Regions from separate parts of the Homo sapiens genome. Here region 2 is linked to region 1. Evidence: promoter capture Hi-C in 16 types of primary human blood cells and fetal thymus (Javierre and others, 2016). All regions are on one chromosome and are shown on one strand. The core of a region is centred on a gene start or on the middle of the fragment in contact, and the rest is flanking DNA. Distances in the headings are between cores, read along the strand shown.

Region 1 (2,712 bases), core at 86-2,585:
GTGTAATACAGTGGCTAACACTTCAAATTCTGCCTCTATTACTTTCTAGCTGTGTGAACTTGGGAAAGTTACTTAACCTCTCTGGGCAATTTCCTCTGAAAAATGAGAATATTGCCAGCCATGTATACAACATATAAAGATGACTGAAAAGAATTCATATATTAAGTGCTTAGAGCAGTGCCTGACACGTAGCACTCAATAGCTGTTAGCTTCTAGTGCTAGTGGCAGTGGGGAGTCATAAATAACTGGATGATCTTGGCAAGTGGCATATTCTCTCTGAGCCTTAGTGTCCTCACTTGTAAAATGAGTATAACAGCAGCACTTTCACCAGTTTGCAAAAGTAACTTGAGATGATGTTAATGACTAGTACTGTGTCTAACACAGAAAAGGTGCACAGTCAAACTTAACTTTTACACCCAGATACACCTCTCCCTATTCAGTGTTGGTTGTTGTTGTTGTGGAGGGGGTAATTTTCTTATTATTCAGCTCATCTTAGATCTAGTGTTGATTTCTCCGGAAGCCATGGGTATAGACATATATACAGGCCCAGGTCTTTCTACACCCCTGGGGAGGTGAGATTTCTTGCTGCGATGGGCCCTTTCTGGGCTGGAGTAGAGCCGCACACACTCCGAGCAAGTAAACAGTGCCACAGGTATTGCTCATGGGGAGGAACAACCAGCCAACTTCAGGACTTGGTGCTTCCCCAGTTCCGGGCCCGTGGCTCTGTTCACAGGAAAACCTGTCGTTGTGTGTGACTCTGATCACGAGAAAACCTGTAGTTATTTGGGGCTCTGCTCACAAGGAAACCTGTAGTTATTTGCAGACAGACGCTCTGGGATTTAGACCTTTTTTTTTTCTTCTAGTGTAGGTGCTAGAATTGCCTTCTTAGTTGGTTGTTTCTATTTAATTGCTTTTCTTTCATGGGTGTCCTGAAGAAAAGCAGAAAATTATAGTCATCTGGCAAAAAAGACTAAAGAGAAATTAGACTTTGTCCCCTTTCACTCTCTCTCTCTCTCTCTCTCTACACACACACACACACACACACACACACACACAGAGTGATACAAATACCTGCTTGAGCCCCTCAGTTATTTTCTCTCAAGGGCTGAAGTCAGCCACACAGGATAAAGGAGGGAAGGGAAGGAGCAGATCTTTTCGGTAGGAAGACAGATTTTGTTGTCAGGTTCCTGGGAGTGCAAGAGCAAGTCAAAGGAGAGAGAGAGGAGAGAGGAAAAGCCAGAGGGAGAGAGGGGGAGAGGGGATCTGTTGCAGGCAGGGGAAGGCGTGACCTGAATGGAGAATGCCAGCCAATTCCAGAGACACACAGGGACCTCAGAACAAAGATAAGGCATCACGGACACCACACCGGGCACGAGCTCACAGGCAAGTCAAGCTGGGAGGACCAAGGCCGGGCAGCCGGGAGCACCCAAGGCAGGAAAATGAGGTACGTGCCAGGGGAGGAGAGGGCACGGTTCCCTTTTGGGGACCAGTGTCAAATAGCAGGGAAGGTCTGACCTTGTCACTGACAGACTCACCTGCGTGTCCTGCATGTGGTAGTGAGGGGCTTTCTCATCAATTCTTAGGGCTCTGAGAAGGGAGCTGTGGGTGGGCTGGGTGCCTTCCCCAGGACTCCAGGAGACATAAAACTTGAAACGGGAGACTTCGTGCAAATCCTGCTCCGGACGCTGCTGAAGCTCAGATTTCTCCCACTGCCTGCACAGGGTGCTGCCTGCTGGCGAATGTGACTCTCCTCCTGTTCACCCACAAGGCTGATTTTTCCGTGTTCCTCCTCTGGAAAGAGCATTGCTTTCTCTCTTCCAGCACTTTGTGAGTTAGATATGTGTTTGTGTGTTCATTCCTTCTGACCAGAAAAGAAACCAGCTTCCCATAGCTTGGCTCTGTGGTTTCTTCAACCTTTACAAGTTTGCCAGTTAAACCTCAATTTAGAAAACTAAAAATCTGTCCCCATTTTACAGTTCCCTATAAATTTTCTGCATTTCTCATTGAAATCAGAGGCAGCTGGTGGCATGAATCAGGCTATGAAGTACACCAAATGGCTCTTAAAGAGATATCATACTTAAAAAAAAAAAAAGGATTTTAGAGTTCTGAAATCAAGAACTTCAAATTCTAATTGGTTTTAAACTCTTTAACCTTTCTTATTCCTCATTATACTTGACACTCCTTACCAGACCTTTCATACAAGTTCTATCCTGCAAGTCTGAAAACCCAACCACCCTAGTTATTTTTATTAGTTAAGTGTTAATGCTGTTACACACACACACACACACACACACACACACAATGCTCTGCAGATGTGTAAGTCCCTAAACACATCTTTTACTATTAATTTTCTTTTCACTTGGGAAAGTGTTTTTATTTGTTTCTCTTCTGCAAAGTAACCTAGCAACTTTTCTGGACCTGAGACCAATGAGAGGCTTCAGACTATGTTAACTCTTTGAACTCCGATTACCTGTGGTTCAGAGAGATAACCAGGTCCTTAAAAAGTGAGTGCAATAATTCTGTTCTTCTTAAAGCCATAGTAATTTTAAACCTGCCATTAAACATCATTTTTCTTTCTCCAAAAAAAAGTGATTTATGTCAATCTACATTGAATGATAATCTCATTTATCTGTCAATGATCTGGTCTGAATCCCACCCTACCATTCAGTGCCCCAGCCCATATCAAACTACTTGGCTGAGTAACAATTCTGT
Region 2 (2,919 bases), core at 354-2,853, 1.7 Mb before region 1:
CCAATCCACCAATATAGGATCCTGCCTTTGCAAGAACCTTCTTATGTAAATATTTACAAGGAGAGTAAAAAAAGAAAGCGGTTTGGGGAGCCACCAGATGGAATAATACAAGAACAAACTTGAACACAGTCAAAATGGGCTTCACCAACAACAGGCGTCCTCTTAGGAATCTACCATTGCCTGGGGGGGTGAGAAAGGAAGAACAGAGAGTTAAAAGGAAAAGCGGCTTCTGGCAAAGCTTCTCTTGGGACTTATTTCAGCTAATCTCTGAAAACTAGGTTTTCGTTTCTATTAAAATCTTCAAAAACAATTTATAATAAACCCTCTAATAGTATTTATGAGTTAATTCATTATCCGTCACTTTTGCCTCTCTAACCAAGCTCTACTGTTGTCTCCCAAAGATTTTCAAAGATGCTGCTTTGGTGCTCATGGGTGGTTAAGCAGGAGTGAAGCTCTCTCCAGGGTTCTCTTCCCCAAGTCCCAGGCTGGCCCCTTTGCATTTGACTTCTGAGGCAGAAGAGTCTGTTCACGCTGCCGCACATGAGCCTATTATGCATTGTTTCCATTTCTCCGTCTACCTTGAGTAGCCTAATTACAAAGCAAGGAGCAATAACTGATATATCTATTATATGATGTTCTTGCAGCTGCTCTTTACCCTCCCCTCCCATCTCTCTGGGTCCCCTATGTAACCATTTTCTGACTCAGAGCACATTTGAAGCAAACTTGGCTCACAATGCATTTTGCAAATAAACCACAAAATAACATGATTGTAAAAAATGTTAACTGCAAAAGTAATAAATAAGAAACTAAATAAGTACGTAACCACAGAGCCTTGTCTGGCTCCTCGGCTCGCTGACCACAGCAGCTCTCTGTTGTCCGTCCTCACTACGGGACAGAGTGAGAACGCTAAGAAAAGGGGAAGACACACCATCCTCGCCCAGGGGTCTCATAGATGGAAGTTACACATAGATAGATTGTTCTCTCATTGTAAGACAGAAAGTTTTATGTCAGAGCTCCCCAATCTAGACAAGCATTGTCAGAGAAGAGGAGAAGCAGGCTGTTTGTCACCATGGTTTCATGTTCACCTATTGCTTTTGTGAGCACCTAACAGGGGTCTGGCTCTGTGCCTGGAGGCATACACATAGCATCTCATGTCACTCCTTAGCAACCCTCAGATGTGGGTATGATTAGTCCCAGTGCACAGAGGAAGAAACGGAAGTCCACCAAGAATCGAATAGCAGTTAGACCACAATATTTCACAGATGCTGCAAAGACTTTATACAGATGAGAGTGGAAAGAGGAGAGTGCAGCAGAAATACGCTGTGATGTCCTTCTCCCCCACCACCACTTCCAAGCCTGGCTGTTGAGATGTGCCCAGTGTCAAAAGAATTGGGGATTAAAACACCAAAGCCTAAATATCAGACTTGCCAATTATTTTACTTATATTTACTTTGAAACCCTGCCAGTCTAAAGACCGTCTTCACCAGAAGACTTCTGTGGCTGGGAAAAATCTCTCAAGGCAATGACCAGTGTAGTCCAGTCGAAAATGAAATGGGAAATTGAAAGCTAGGCCTGAAGCTGAATAATACAGTGCAAAATTTTCAATTCAGGGTCAGTACACAGTAATATTTTATGCCTCAGGACAGGGCTTAAGTATTAAGGACAGAAAAAGAGTCACTAATGTTTAATACATACAGAGACAGCAGCACGCTAGGCCCTATGGCCAGGACCCCTACATCACAGAACCGTGGAGGACCCTATTCACATTATCAGCTATGAATAGTGTCCCTCCTCCAGGGTCACACAACACACATGACCTGCAGAGCCCAAAACAGGCTTTTCTCAGGGAGATACCAAACACAAAACAAAAACCAGGGAAAACACAGTCTCAAGTCAATTACCAAGCAAGGGAAAGAGAAAGGTCCACATGCAAATGACAACTAGGGGAGGGGGTAGTTATAATTGCTCTGCATGAATTGAGAATGGAACCACTGCCCAGTTTACTAAGCATGCTCACATGCATTCATGCCTTTTTTTTCACAATAGCTCCACGAATAAGGGTTATTATTCTTATTTTCTGAATGGGAAAACAGGGGCTCAGAGAGGGGAAGGGACTTTTCTAAAATTTCCAACTTTTAGGTTGGAAGCCAAGACCCATATCCAAGTAGCCCCTGCCTCAGAGTTTCTCCCACTGCCCCCTCACTGGCACATTGGAAATGCAGAAGAAGAAGCATCAGCAGGAGCTCCGTGCGCCAGACTCCAGAGGGGAGTTGCAGAAAGCCTCAGTCAAGGAAGAAGCAAAAGAAACCTTAGGAGTGGAGGAGGCATAGACGCGATAAGCAGGAGTTTGGATGAGAGTGTATGACATAATGTGATCCACAGAACTTTGGAATTTATTAAAAGTCAAACCAAATTATTTCTTCTCTGATGAGCAGCATTCCAAATACTGAAGGTTTATGGTTTAAATACAAACTCCATTGTAACTCAATTAGGATGGAACTATTTCTAAAATCGATTATGCATTTGTCTATCTTCTAAGACAAAGCATAAAGAAAATAATTTAGCCTTTCACAAGGGGGCACACTGTAGGCTGTCACTTTCTTCACTGCAATATAATATATGATGACATTCTAGAGGACTCTCTAAATTTAAAGCACCTCTTGACTCCACACTCGATCCGGATTGCTGTGATTTTTAAGTGACTGAGGATTCGCGGCAGGGGTTCTGTTTATCTTGTTTTCTGTCTCCTCTCTTCTTATCAAGTCATCAACCTTGTACTTGTCTTCCTTTTTAGTAGGCCTGCCTATTGTAACCCATTCTTCCTCATCAAATGTGCTGTTTTGGGTCTTGTATATATCTATAGGTAGCCAAGTTTATTAACAGTTTGTGTAAACTAAAATTATTCAAGCTCTGAGTGAG

The links. Contacts are between HindIII fragments. The CHiCAGO score rates a contact against its expected background, and 5 or more counts as called.
Region 2: a contact is called between a fragment that was not itself captured here and the fragment with the promoter of MASP1 in region 1, in 5 of 17 cell types (naive B cells, total CD4 T cells, total B cells and 2 more). The highest score is 10.1, in naive B cells.

Annotation. Positions count from the first base shown.
Region 1 is chr3:187,290,360-187,293,071 of GRCh38, reverse strand. MASP1 (MBL associated serine protease 1) reads left to right here and starts at 1,335. Exons shown (of 11, transcript NM_139125.4): 1 at 1,335-1,444. The coding sequence starts at 1,440. LOC101929130 (a long non-coding RNA gene) reads right to left here and starts at 1,800. Exons shown (of 2, transcript NR_135551.1): 1 at 1,536-1,800. The HindIII fragment of the contact is 4,632 bases long and covers 1-2,712 here.
Region 2 is chr3:188,973,316-188,976,234 of GRCh38, reverse strand. No RefSeq gene overlaps it. Among named protein-coding and RNA genes, the nearest start is that of TPRG1-AS1, 27 kb to the right of the region's middle. The HindIII fragment of the contact is 2,725 bases long and covers 241-2,919 here.